Regions from separate parts of the Homo sapiens genome. Here region 1 is linked to region 2. Evidence: promoter capture Hi-C in human tissues and cell types (Jung and others, 2019). All regions are on one chromosome and are shown on one strand. The core of a region is centred on a gene start or on the middle of the fragment in contact, and the rest is flanking DNA. Distances in the headings are between cores, read along the strand shown.

What was found. Contacts are between HindIII fragments. The study calls those that stand out against the background at their distance.
Region 1: a contact is called between a fragment that was not itself captured here and the fragment with the promoter of KCNK3 in region 2, in 2 of the 25 tissues and cell types used here (mesenchymal stem cells and spleen).

What each region holds. Positions count from the first base shown.
Region 1 is chr2:26,562,703-26,569,407 of GRCh38, reverse strand. The region is part of intron 1 of CIMIP2C (ciliary microtubule inner protein 2C); the gene reads right to left. Among named protein-coding and RNA genes, the nearest start is that of CIMIP2C, 3.5 kb to the right of the region's middle. RefSeq lists enhancers at 2,795-3,300, 6,547-6,705. The HindIII fragment of the contact is 4,843 bases long and covers 1-4,741 here.
Region 2 is chr2:26,688,377-26,695,878 of GRCh38, reverse strand. It overlaps KCNK3 (potassium two pore domain channel subfamily K member 3), which reads right to left and starts at 3,157. Exons shown (of 2, transcript NM_002246.3): 1 at 2,721-3,157. The coding sequence starts at 3,003. The HindIII fragment of the contact is 34,558 bases long and covers 1-7,272 here.

The sequences.
Region 1 (6,705 bases), core at 1,071-3,570, 130 kb after region 2:
AAGCACAAGCGGGGCCAGGTGTCAGTCCCTCCGCGCCAGGGCCTCTGTGAGAATGCTTTCCAGCCGCATCATCCACTGTCATCACAGTTTTCCCATTCCAGCTGAAGAGGCTATTTGCTGCTTTGAAAGAACATCCTTCTGGCAACTCCACACCATTTTTTTTGTCTCAAGCCACATCCTCCATCCAGAAGGCTCTGCTCTCCGCACTTCCCACATTGTGATCTTACCCATCCTTTGAGGCCCATCTTGAATGCCCTCTTTCCCATGGAGCCTCCATGACCCAGCCCACAGACCCTGCCTGCCCGCTCCATGGAACTGTCTTTGCCCTTTGCACCTCTCCTATGTCTCAGTTCATATTGTTTTTCTTTTTCTTTTCTTTTTTTTTTTTTTTGAGACTGAGTCTCACTCTGTCACCCAGGCTGGAGTGCAATGGCATGGTCCTCACTGCAACCTCCATCTCCCGGGTTCAAGCGATTCTCCTGCCTCAGCCTCCCAAGTAGCTGGGATTACAGGTGCCCGCCACTATGCCCAGCTAATTTTTGTACATTTAGTAGAGACGGGGTTTTGCCATATTGGCCAGACTGGTCTCAAACTCCTGACCTCAGGTAATCCACCTGCCCCGGCCTCCCAAAGTGCAGGTGTGAGCCACCGCACCTGGCCTCAGTTCACATTCTTTCATATCACAATAATCTGAGCCACTGGAATATTCTTTCTTATTAATCATAGGCTCTCTGGGGAAGTAGGGTTCTGTTGTACTCATACTGGCATGCTTGGCATTCTCTGCACCCAGTGGATGTTCTGTGAATATCTGTTGAATGGAATTGACAAATGGTGGCACATTTTAAAGGGTTGCCCTTTCTTCTGGAGAGAAGGAGGATCCCTGTTGCAAAGCCCAAGTCTCCAGGAGCCCCTGATCACCTGTTCTTAGGGGGCTCCACAGTTCCTCAAGGTAGAGAGGCACCAGTTACCTATGAAATGTACTTGAACAGCTCAGAGGTGAATTCCAGGGAAGAGATAGGGGCTGGCCTTGGGGCAGAGGTCCTGGGAAAGGGGTGGGGAATGACGTGGCTTATGAATCCTCCAGAAGAGAAGATACTGCAGCAGAGAAAGGCAGGTGAGTGGCCAGAGGCTCCCTAAGTGTGTGAGGCCCTCTGAGACCAGGCTGCCTCCTGGGGGGATAGAGAAGGAAGCTCCCTGTGGGGACAGGGCCAAGAGGGAGAAGAATTGAGGGACTGTAGAATTTACTTTCTGCTTCTGTATTTTGGGCTTGAATCTGGGACAATGATCTTTTCCCTCAGCTGGAGATGAGAACCGAACAACGAAAGTAGTGCCTGCTGTGCCTTCAGTCAGACCTCTCAGCCTGGGGGCGGGGGTGTGCCAAGGAGAATGGCACAGGTAGAAGGCTTCACACGAGGAGGTCCCTTCTTTCAAATGCTTGAAAACAGGACCACACCTGCCAGTTTCTCAACAGTGGTCTGCAATGCAAGGGGCCATAGAAATTCTCAGACAAGCATTCCTGTCCCTGGTTACATCTTAGAATTGCCTGGGAGGATTAGAAACTCCTGCAGCCCTGGCCCAGCCCAACCAATGACATCAGAATCTCTAGATGGGGCCCGAACACAGGTCATAGTTAAAGCTCCCCAGGAGATTCTAATACTAACGAATGGGCACAAAGGGTCCCCTACCTCCTCCTGGGCAGATGGCCTTTGTTTCATACCCCAAGATGCACTGGCCTGTTTGGAGGGCTGCACCTCGGGTGCCAGGGCCTGGGTTGAAGTGGAAGGGGCTTTGGAAATGCAAATGCTTTGGAACCCTCCCTTCCCAAGCCTGGCCTGACCTCTCTCCCTGAAGGGTAAAGCCCCAGGCCCCAGGAAGCTGGCAGAGTGTATTACTCTGTTCCCACGCTGCTAAGAAGAACTGCCCCAAACTGGGTAATTTATAAAGGAAAGAGGTTTAATTGACTAATAGTTCTGCAGGGTTGGGGAAGTCTCAGGAAACTTACAGTGATGGCAGAAAGTGAAGCAAACATGTCCTTGTTCTCATGGCGGCAGGAGAGAAAAATGGGTGCCCAACAAATGGGGAGCCCCTTATAAAACCATCTGATCTTGTGAGAACTAACTCTCATGAGAACAGGATGGGGGAACTGCCCCCATGATTCAATTATCTCCACCTGGTCCCTCTTGTGACATGTGGGGATTATGGAAACTACAATTCAAGATGAGATTTGGGTGGGGACACAGCCAAACCATATCACAGGGGCAGGCAGTAGTGGGCTACAGGCAGTGCCTACTGGCTTCAAAGGAATCAACTTCTAAATTTTCAGGAAATTGTTAAGTCTATTATTAAACAAGCCAGTATTCAATATCAAATTATATTCCATTACAATTAAATATGTTATATTAGGCCAGGCATGTTGGCTTCTATAATCCCAGCACTTTGGGAGGCTGAGGCAGGCAAATGGCTTGAGCCCAAGAGTTCAAGACCAGCCTGGGCAGCCCTGTCTCTACAAAAAATATAAAAATTAGCCAGGTATGGTGGTGCACACCTGTGGTCCCAGCTACTCAGGGGGCTGAGGTGGGAGGATCACTTGAGCCCAGGAGGTTAAGGCTATAGTGAGCTGTGATCGTGCCACTGCACTCAAGCCTGGGTGACAGAGTAAGACTCTGTCTCAAAGGAAAGAAAAACACACTAAAACCAAAGGAGACAGTCAAAACTCCTCACTTCCTAATTATTTTGCCACGTTACTATCGTCTGTGTTTGAGGTTGTCATGTCCACTCTATCTGTGGGGTGGAAATGTTATATAATGGTGCACAGCTGTGCATCCATCCCTCCCCAACTCTGCAATTAAGGACACTATGTTGATAGTTTGAAATCAGCTTTGGTGAGAGTATTTATACCACAGATACGGATGAATGTTACAAATCAAAGCATTTTTGCTCCAGAGAACTGGTTGTTAAACATTTGTCAGTACACCACCGTGTGTGTGTTTGCTGTACAGGGATTCTGGGGATGGGGACACAGCCACCTTTGTGGGACCACTCTCCTGACAATGGAGTGGAACGCACTGATTTTAGGACCAGAGGCCCCTGAAGTCTCCGAGGTCCAGCTCAGTGACAGATGTGGGCACAACTGCCACCCCAGGCAGACAGAGAGAGGGGCTGGGAGGCAAATCCTCCTGCCCTCACTCTTGGTGAGAGCCGCTGGGCAGGAGCTGTGGGCATGGGGCGCAGTGGCAGTCTGGGCATGAATGAATGCATGGCGCAGGCCAAGTGTCTGCACTGAGAGCCGGTGAGGCATGGCCAGAAACAGAGAATGAGGAGTGGATGCCACCCAGATCCGACTTGCAAGCAGGAAGCTTGGATCCTCACTGAGGCCAATCTCATCCCTTCAAACCCCTTCAAATCTCAGGGGCTCTGACCCAAGAGCTCCTGCCCACTGCAGGAATAGCACCCAGGCCAGGCGTAGGCAGGCACTGCCTGTGGCAAGGTGCCTAGGAGCTGTGTCCCCAGGAACAGCATGGAACCAAATGGAGCACCCTGGCCGGCGAGGCTGAAGACCAGCTTTGTTATTATTTCATGTTCCCCGGGGTTCCTAGAACCAGATCTTGAACACAGTAGAGATCTAACTAATGATAACAGCTAACAATGATCAAGTGCCAGGCTTTACGCATGTTAACTAACTGAAACCTCTTTAACCTGCACACCGTGATCATCCCCATTGAACAGATAAGGTAGGTGAGGCAGGGGGGATAAGTAACCTGCCCAGGGTAAGGAAGTCATGGAGCCAGGATTCGTACCAGGCAGGCTTGCTCCAGAGTCCATCTCTTACTGTCGACCCCATTCCCTCCCTGCTAAATGAGGGAGGCAGTGTGAAACACCACATGACGGTTGGGGAGATATTGGGGTGAGTTGGGGCGTTGAAGTCACAAAGCCGAGGCTCGGCAACTTGCTGAATGACTTTGGGCAAGCTGCTCATTCCTCATCTGGGTTATTGTGATGATTTTAAAAAAGAAAAAAGGCCAGGCGTGGTGGCTCATGCCTGTAATCCCAGCACTTTGGGAGGCCAAGGCGGGTTGATCATCTGAGGTCAGGAGTTCGAGACCAGCCTGGCCAACATGGCAAAACCCCGCCTGTACTAAAAATACAAAAATTAGCCGGCTGTGGTGGCGCGTGCCTGTAATCCCAGCTACTCAGGAGGCTGAGGTAGGGAGAATTGCTTGAACCCAGGAGGCAGAGGTTGCTGTGAGCCGAGATTGCGCCATTGCACTCCAGCCTGGGCAACAGAGCAAGACTCCATTAAAAAAAGAAGAAGGGGTAGGGGAAGGGGAAGGGGAAGGGGAAGGGGAAGAAGAAGGAGAAGGAGAAGGAGAAGGAGAAGAAGAAGAAGAAGAAAATGTTGTGAAGGGCCCAGCACAGTGCCTGGTACATAGTTGGAGCTCAGACTTAGGAGATCATGGTGTTATTGCCAGGCATTAGGGACCTGGCTCCAGCCCAGCACTTCAATCACCAGCGTGGGGCTCAGGCAAGTCCCCCCACACCTCAGTGACCACATCTGGAACAGGAGGGGACAGGGCTACATGATCTCTGAGGTCCACACCAGCATGAATATTCTCGCCTCTATGAATAAAGCAGGTAAGAGCAGGGTGATGTGAGTGTCAGAAGAGACTGGCTGTGCTTTAAAATCCTGTGATTAGTGTTTGAACAGACACACAAAAATAAGAATTATCCAAGTGTGGTCGGGAATCTTGGGTTCTTTCATTAAGTTAACAGAATTGCCAACGAGGTAGCATTTGGAAACACAAAATGACTCAATTCATCCCTTGCTGATGGGAATCTTTAAGGGGAACACAACCCTTCCAGAAAGATCTAGATGAGAAAGCAGCAGATACGGGCTCAGCTGCTCAAACTAGCCCAGTCCAGGCTTGAAGCCTCATTCATGATCCTCTTATTGCCATTTCTAAATCAATCACAGGACAGGGCGCTCAAGGGAACTGCTGAGAAGTGGCAGGAATAGGAAAGCACCCTGGGGACTGCTTCTGAAACCTGCAGCTCCCACCCCTGCCAAACAGAGTTGGGGAACTGTGGGGCAGGGTTTGCAGGAGCACCAGGCCTTGCCCCTCAGATGGGAAATGTCCAGGAGTCAGACAATAGAAAATTTTCCAACTGGAGACTGTGGGAGGCTTAAGAAAAAAAGTCAATGTATAAAATCAAATCTCATGATGAACACCCAGAATGTGGTGTCAGCACCACAATCCAAGGCTGCAAAAATGGATTTGAACTAAACCTTATGTGTTTACACCACACTAGGGCAGCCCCTCACTTGTTTGTCTTTGTCTTCCCAGCCTCCTAACATAACACCTGGCATGTCCCAAGCACTGACCCACATGAATGTCTTAAATAAAGGAAAACGGGCAAATCCTAAGTCACCTGGCTTGGCTTCGGGAAACTACCATGACCTGGTAAATCAGCTTTGTCTGATGGGAACCCTGGTAGCTTTTGAGCTCCCTCCAAGGCCCAGAGAGAGGTCGCATCCACAAATGGGCTAGGTTAAAACTACAGCACCAGCCCCTGGTTGCTACTTTCTCATGCAGCCTCCAGAAATGATTTGAATGTCACAGCACCTCTGTGTCTAGCTTATTCTGCTTCAAAACAATCTCAACTTCATACCAAATACACTTTTCTTCATGTTGCCATCTGTTCCGATTGCAGGGGAGAGCATGCGGGCTTTTTCACCCATTTGGAGACTCTGCCTGCAGAATCCTCAAGACATTCATTTCATTCATTCGTTCACTCTTTTTTTCAGACAAGGGTTCTTAGGATCATTCATTCATTCTATACAGATTTGCTGATACTGTACAGGTTGCCTCTCAGAATCCAGTGCCTGTTCTCAGTACCTATGCTGACTGGTAGGAGGGATAAAGACAGCCTTACACCCTGGGAGAGGCGGTCCAGAGTAGAAACATCAGACACTGTAGGAGAAAGAGCCAAAGAACAGGAGGCAACAGCCAGACTTGCATGTTAGATGGTTGGAGTCTGAAAATATCCAGAGTAAAGAAAGGTAGGTGTAACCTAGTATTTGAAAGTGCTAAACAGCAAGCCAGCGCTCAGGGCAAGTGGCCAGGAAGCTTTCCAAGAAAAACTTCTGGGAGGATAAAGGGAGGTCTGTGAAAGGACCGACCGCAAAGTCGGGCGGGTACTGCACACATGACCCATTAACTACGGCTCTTCCGGCCTTGCCAGGTTCTTCGAGCGGGCACCCACCCGGTATCCTTCCCTCCTTCAACCAACAAGTACTGACCTTGCCCGAATGCTGGGTGCTGGCCCTGTGCGCCGGACGGAAGGGCCTGATTTTCTCGCATTTTCTCTAAGCGCTGGAGGCTGCCCGCCTGGGGCGTCTCCAAGCACTAAACCCCACGTGGCTCCATCTCCTCCCCCTTCCCCGGCTACATCCATGCGAGGTCCCTTATGCCCTGCTGGCTGTGCCCCACTTGCCAGGGAGCGCCTTCCTGTGAAGGGGAATCTGGGGAGGCCCCCGCCCGTGCCTGCCCACTTCCTACTCTGAAACCACAAACCTCTAGGAAGGCCCCTCGCCCCGTCGGGTGGAAAATTGGCTCCTCGGGGTTCCTTCAACCCCAAAGTCCGGGGGCAGGGGGCTGAATTTCGATCACCGAGGAGGGCGCTAGTGGAAGGGGGAGGGGAGGAGGC
Region 2 (7,502 bases), core at 1,908-4,407:
GAACCAGGGGGGTGGTCTGATGTTGTCTTTCCTCTTGCCCAGCACTTTATAAATAAATAATCACCAGAACCGCACTCTGTCTGCCTCTCCCCCCATGGCTTTTAGCGTCTCTCTTGGTGAGGACTGCAAGCACTTTGGGAAACGGCAGAGGAAGAGGGAAGGATGCTACCCTTTCATTTCTGCACACCTTAAACCCATCAATAGCATTCTGTGTGTGCTCACAGCCTCTGGGTACTATGCTGGCACTTGGAGCACAGAGACAGGAACTGCAGGACCTGCCCACATGGAGGTTGAGTACAGTGTGGTCAAAGAGACAAAACACTTCCCCTATAATGCAAATAACCATTCAAAACAGCCAACAGCGTGTCACCCAGATCATCCTCACAGTGAGACCTGCAGTTGTCCAGAGCAGTGGCCTGGGAGGCTTTGAGGAGGAGGGGGGATTTGAGCTGGACCTGGAAGGTTAGCATGGACAAGATAAATAGAAGGTAGAGCCAGGCGCAGTGGCTCACACCTGTAATCCCAGCACTTTGGGAGGCCCAGGTGAGAGGATCGCTTGAGGCCAGGGGTTTGAGGTTGTGCTGAACTATGATTACACCACTGCATTCCAGCCTGGGTGAGACAGAGTGAGACTCTTTCTCTCAAAAAAAGAAAAAAGAAAAGAAAAAGGGCAGAGAAAAAGGCATGCCAGACAGGCATACTTAAGGTATTCTCAGAGGACAGGTTGGCAGCTATCGAGAGGGATCACATAAGTAAGAAGTGAGATGTGAAGTCAGACATAGAGGTTGGAGCCAGGTATGGAGATCCTCAAAATTTGAGATAAGGAGCATAGACCAGATTCCATGGACAGTGGAGAGTCATTGAGGGATTCCAAGAAGGGAATTGGTTTGGTGACAGCTGAGTTTTTCTTTCTGGCAGCATTGTCCAGGGGAGCATGCCTTGTTGTGGGGTAGGCAGGGAGGTCAGTTGGGAGGTTACTATGAAGCTGGGGACCATGGGCCTGAGAAGGAAAGGGGACACGCGTGAAGGCTTGACGTGTGGAAAAGAGGGAGAGAGAGGGTCCAAAGATGTTCAGTCTGATTCTTTTGATTCTCCAGACAGCTAAACAGCTACTGAAACCCTGGCAAATAGTAGTGGGGTGTGAGAGTGGAAGAGACTGCAGACCAAATCTGGGCTGGTGTTTTTCAGGAAGCGGGCTCCTCTTTGGGCAGACCTAAGTCTGATCATCCTATCCTAAACTCACAGGACCAGTAGGACCCAGAGGTGCCCCAGCTGGGCCACATCCACTCCCAGGGCCCTTTCCTCCCTCTTCCAAGAGAAGAATCCAGAAACGACACAGCATAGCTCCCCATGGTCCCCAGGGAGCCGTAGATTCTTGGAACAGTGTCCTGCAGTGGATAGACCGCAGGAAGAGTGTCTAGTCCTGCCTTTTACTCCCTCAGCTCCTGTTGACTCCCAGGAAAACAATGCCATCTTCATGGGCTGCGCTAAGTGGCAACGAACCCCTGGGAGTCTGATCAAGGCAGGGAAGGGGACTAGGGAGAGGAGAGGGAACAGTAAAGACAGAGGAAACTGCTTCTGGAGGCATCTCAATGGGCTTTGGGGGAAGGTGGGTTTCATCTCAGAATCCAAGCACGTCGGGGCTGGGGAGGAGCTCTTGAGATCATTTTGGCCACCCCTCCTTGTCTGGAGGTGAGCCTGAGACCCAGACAGGGGAAGGGACTTGCCCAAGGTCATATATCACGGTAGTGATGGAGCTGGGCTGAAATCATAGGGTGTTGGGGACAGGTAAGGTGTTATTCCCGTCTGGACAGTTTTGAATAGCACCACCAAGGGCCTGGCTAGAGATTCCTTTCCTGGGCAACGTTTGTTCTCTCTCTCTCTCTCTGTCTCTCTCTCTGTGTGTGTGTGTGTGTGTGCCCGCCCTGTGTGTACCCTGTGAGTGCCTGTGTGTATCTGTGTGCATGTGTGCCTATGCCTGTGTTGTCTGACAGTCTGGGTGTACGTGTGGCCTCCTACATGGTGATCTGCCCTGGCTTGGAAAGAACTGGGGTTATTCCTGTGAGGTGACTGTTTTGCTGGGACAGCAGAGAAGAAGGCTGACAAGGCCAGATCTGGCTTCCCGCACCAATTCTGCCGCTCTGAGAAAATCACAGGCACTGACTGGTGGCGACCAAACTCCTGGAGCTGAAACACGCAGACACACGTACACTCACAGCCGCCGTTATAGGGTGGCCCCAAGTGCCCCGAAGTGCCGCATTCCGACATCCTCATGCCTCCCCAGAGCCCAGCAGGTGTAGACCTGCTAGGCTGTGGAAGCCGATCCTCAGGGATACGGAGCACTGGCGCTCTCCCGCCGCTCACTCTCAGCGCCCTGTTCAGGGCCTGGCCCGGCCACACCCCTCCTGCCCGAGCCTCCGCCGGTCGTCCCTGCCCCTCTCACACACTTCGGAGTCCCTGGGGGCCTATGCAACATGGCAGGGCCAAGTTAGGGCTGGCCCGGCCGGAGAGTCAGGTCCGGAGCCAGGAATCGACGCCTCCCCGAGTTCCGTCCCCGCGGAGCACACACGCCAGGCTGAACTCGGGTTTCTGCGAGCGCAGGGTTCGGCGCCCAGCCCCTCTCGGGGGAGCCCCCGCCCCCAGCCCCAGCCGGCCCCGGACGACTCCCGGAGCCCCGCGCCCAGCCCTGGGTTCCCGCCCCCCGCCCGGCGAGCCGTTACCGATGGTGGTGATGACGGTGATGGCGAAGTAGAAGGAGCCGGCGAAGCGCCACTGCACGCCGGCCTTGTGCGGCTTGAGGCGCAGCACGACGCGCTCCAGCTCCTCGTAGCCGCCCTGGCTGAGGTTGTAGCGCGCCCGCAGCTCCTGCTGCCGCAGCTCCAGCCGCTGCCGCTCGATCAGCTCGGGCTCCGACTCCAGCGCGTCGAAGACCGCGGCGCCCACCAGCAGGTAGGTGAAGGTGCACACGATGAGCGCCAGCGTGCGCACGTTCTGCCGCTTCATCGTCCCGCCCGGGCCGCCGCCGGCCCCCCGGCGCCCCCGGCCCGCGCCTCGGCCCCGGCCGCCGCTGCTGCTGCCCCGGAGGCGGCCTGGGGCATGGCTGCGCTCGCCGCTCTCCGCGCCGGGCACCCGCTCAGCGCCCGGGGCCGCCGCCGCCGCCGCCGCCGCGGAGCTGTCCCTTCAGCACCACCCACCGCCCTCCTCCGCCCGGCCCCGCGCCCGCCCCCCGCCCCCCGCCCGCAGGCCGCCTCCTCCCGCCAGCCCTCCCGCCCAGCCAAATAAGGACTGGGGAGACGCGCCGAGGAGGGAGGAGGGGGGCTGGCGGAGGGGACGGGAGGGGCGGCCGCGAGAGAGCCCGGGCAGGACAGAGAGAGAGAAAGAGAGAGAGAGCGAGCCCGAGAGACAGAGAAAACTAGACAGCGAAACGCTGATAACTACGGAGAATGGGAGAAAGGCAGTGTAGGACTGAGGGAAGGGGGCTGTGTGACAGAGGAGGAGATAAAATCAGAGGTGCACTCAGACAGAAAAAGAAGAGAGGCGGGCAGAAAAATACAGAGCAAAAGATGGAAACAGAGAGAGCAACAGACTGAGACAGAGAGGCCTGGATTGCTGGAGATAAACTAATGACAGAGAAACAGACAGGAAGGCAAGGAAGGCAGAGCGAGCCCCTCCCCACCCCACCCTCCACCCTCATCACAGCATATTGCAGCCAGGAGGCACTTGGGGCCTCGCTGTCCTGCCCTTATCCTATGGATGAGGAAATGGAGGCCCAGAGAGGTCAAGTGACACGCATGGGCACGCAGTGATTTCGTGACAGCACTGGGACTCAGCCAAGCGTTCCTTCCTCCCAGGCCACACTCCTTCCTCCCTTGGGCCAGACTCTGGCTGTCTTGGAAGCAGGCAGGGCCCAGCTGTGGACCTGGGCACACATGAGCTGACACCCAAGGGAAAGCCCTGTTCTCAGGCAATGTGTGCCTTCCCAGGTCAGCACAGTTCTTGGAACTGGCTGAGAAGGCACAGGCTGGGAGTCTAGGCCTCCTGCTTCGCTCCCAGGGGCTTCTAGGCTGTCCCGACTCCCATGGTTCCTGTCTTGCACCCGTGCACCAGGCTGGGCTTAGGCTGAGTTGCCAGAGATAGCACCTGCCACCACCTTAGGGCATCCCAGCAGAACCGGGATCTAGCTGGAATTGGGCAGGTGGGGCCCAGAGCAGGAGGCTCACTGGCAGACTGCGGGAACTGGGGCAGGAGAGGGGGTCCCTATGCCTCAGTTTCTTCATTTGTCAAACATGGTGGCTATGGTGGTGAGGTGGGAAGGGTAGTGGAAACTCAGGCATTACTGACCCTCTCAGAGCCTTGTTTCCTTATCTTTTCAACGAGGTGTCGTAGCAGATGATCCCACAGGCCTTGCCCAGCTCTAAACAACTCCAGACTTGGATGGGCTGAGTGAGCAGAATGATTGGAATGCAAATCTCAGTGCCAAGAAGGGTTAAAAAGTCCTTCACAGGACCCTGGCATGGGCCAGGCAGAGAGACAGGGAAGAGACACCAAGGCCCCTGACTGAGAGCAGACTCAGGAGGCAGTCAGCCAGAAGCTGGAGCACTGTCTACCCACAGGCTGGGCTGACCTGTCACTGCCGGACACTACACTCCTCCAATGACACCCCAGAAGTGCCACCAACCCCTTCATTCCTTCAACAAGTATTTATTAAGCATCTGTTGTGTGTCAGGGATTCATCATCTCTGGTCCTCACCACAATCCTGAAAGGTAGGTGTGGTCATGCCTATTTTATAGATGGGGAAACTGAGGCTAAAGGCAATGTAGAGAATCAGTAAATTTCACTCAGCTGGGAAGAGGCTTCAGTCTGTCTGCCTCTTAAGCCCATGCTCTTTGCCATGACTCCTTGAGTCTCTCTTTTTTTTTTTTCAATTTGTAAAGTGGAATAGATAATAATATTAGCTCTACCCGCGTCTTGAACCATTTGTTTTGAGAGATCAAAGAAGAACACATGTGTGCAAATCAGATGATATGAGGCTCTCTAATGACTTCAGAGCCCAATGGGAGGGTCCTACATTTATAGCACCATGTTCCCCCTCCCTCTTCAAGGGAAGATCTTTGTTTCTTTGCAGGCACAGAATTTCTGGTCTTGCCCTCTGACCAGCAACTCAGCCTATTGCAGGCTTTTCCCCTTTGCATCTTCTGGCTCCCTGGAAGGAAAGTACTGCCTTTCCCAGCTTCTCAGAGGTGAAGGTACAAGTTAGGTTCTGTGCATTTCTGATGTATTGGCTCCTGGTGACAGTCACCCCAGAAGCGAATTCCCCCAAAGCCTGTCTAGATGAGCAAGAGGGTTGCTAGACCAGGTTTTCAAGGTGAAAAGGCTGTGTCCAGGTTCTGCTTGCTTGTGACTGCCAGGCCAGACAGCTGTACCGATGAAAGGTGATATTATGAGTGAAAGAGCTTTGGAAAAGGGAAAAAGCTGTCTTTAGGGGCAGGGCATGTATTATTAATCATGATGAAGCTTTTTCTCTGAGCACTTCAATACTGAAAGGACCTTTAGAGATCATTTAGCCCAACCTTCTCATGTTACATATGAGGAAACTGAGGCCCAGACAGTAGGAAGAGTGTTGTCCAAGGTCACACAGTGAGTGAGGGGGAACCAGGACTCATGTCCCAAGGTTGGCACTTTCTTGTTGCACCTATTATGTGTGGGACCAGGGCACCTATCAGTGGGGAGGCCCTGAAGCCCAGAGGGCAGCCTAGGTCTCCTTCTTCCTGCCCCTCCTCTCTCCTTCTCTTGGGGAGAAGGTTCTGGAATAGGAGCCATGTTGGTACCAGTCTAGGTTTCTGAGTAGCCCCTGGGACTTGTAGGCAACCTGGGTCAGATTGTGCCAAAGACATATCAGCTTATCCCATTTCTTCCCATCCTGGGCTCCTCAGACCTGCCTGTGCCTGCCCAGTGTCAACCTGTCTCTGCCACCTGTTTGCTCTGGCATTGGGGGCCAGTCGCTCCTTCTCCTTGAGGCTTGCTGCTCATCCATCAGTGGAGGGGTCTGGACCAGGAAATGTCCACACTCCCTTCATTTATAGCATCCCATGACCTTCCCGGACTCTGTTTCTCTAGTTCTCCCAATAATCAGACAAAAAGAGGAAATAGCACTACTTTTAAGATTCTAGTTTGTGAGGAAAGGGACACAGAGTTAGGTAGGATAAATTGAACAGAATGTGTCATTAGTTACTATATTTTATTATATACTAACATCATACACAATTATTAACCAGCTTTATCTTCCAGTCCATTCTTCTCTAAGTTCTAAACACATCCAAGTACTTCCATGCTTCACATGGCTCATGTGGCTCCCATAACCTGGGATGCTGGTGCCTCCTTGCCTTTCCCATCTTCTGTCTGTTGAACTCCTATTCAGGCTCCAAGACCCAGCTTAAAGACCACTCCCTCCATGAAGCATTTCCCAGTTTCCTCTGATCAGAACCACTGGCTCTTTTTGTGCTTCTGCAGCACCCTATCTAAGCATCAACTCAGCAGGTATTCCTCCTGCCTAAAAGATTAGCTGTTCTTTCATATCCATCTTCCCCACTGGCTCATTATCTTCTCCAGGGTGGAGGAAACCCTTCTCACTCATGCTACTCTCCCCGCAGTACTTTGCACCTTAGAGCTGCTCCACATGTTTCCTTGGGTGACTCACTCAAATGAAGGCTTTAAGGATCTCTATACCTGAGTTAGAGACCATCAGTGTCAGAGGGAGAGGGGCACAGATGGCTGAGTCTGCAGGCAGAAAAACCCTGGCAATCTGCTTCTGTGGTTCTCTGAAGAGAGATAGTTCTAAAGCTGGGACAAGCTCTGTCTAGCTTAGGAGAGGAGGATAAAGACAGATGTGTGTCCCAGGGCCCAAGGAAGCATGTGGGAGACAGCATTGAACTAGGAGTCCAGAGGCTGGAGTTTGGTCCCAGTGCTGCCATCAACTACCACCAACTAGTTGGGTGGACTCGGGAAACTCACGTGGCCTCTATGTGTCTCAGTTTCTTTTTCTATAAGACAAAAGCGTTGGCTGTATCCAAAGGTCCCTTCCTGCTCTGACATTCTGGGATGTTAACGAGAGCCCTGGCCATTTGACCAGAGTGGTCAGTGTACAATGGCCAAGAATGTGGCCAGAAGGATGAGAGGCCCAAATACCTCCCTGTCCATTGCTTTCCAGCCCCCTGTATTGGCAGTTTGGCTGGAGGATAGGGGCAGGATCAATGAGGTAGGACCCTGAGTCAGACAAGCTGAAGTTCAGATCCTGACTCCATCAGTTTCTAGACCAGATCCTCACGTGAAATTCAAGTTCGTTTTGTTTAGAGCAGACCATAATCTCCTGTAGGGCAGGGGTAGGGCCTTACTCATGTCTGTAAGCCACAGCTCCTGGCACAGCAGCTGACACAGAGAAGGTGTTTGTAAACACCCCTCTATTTGGTCCAGTTGGCCTGGTGGGCTCAGGTGGGTCAGTAGG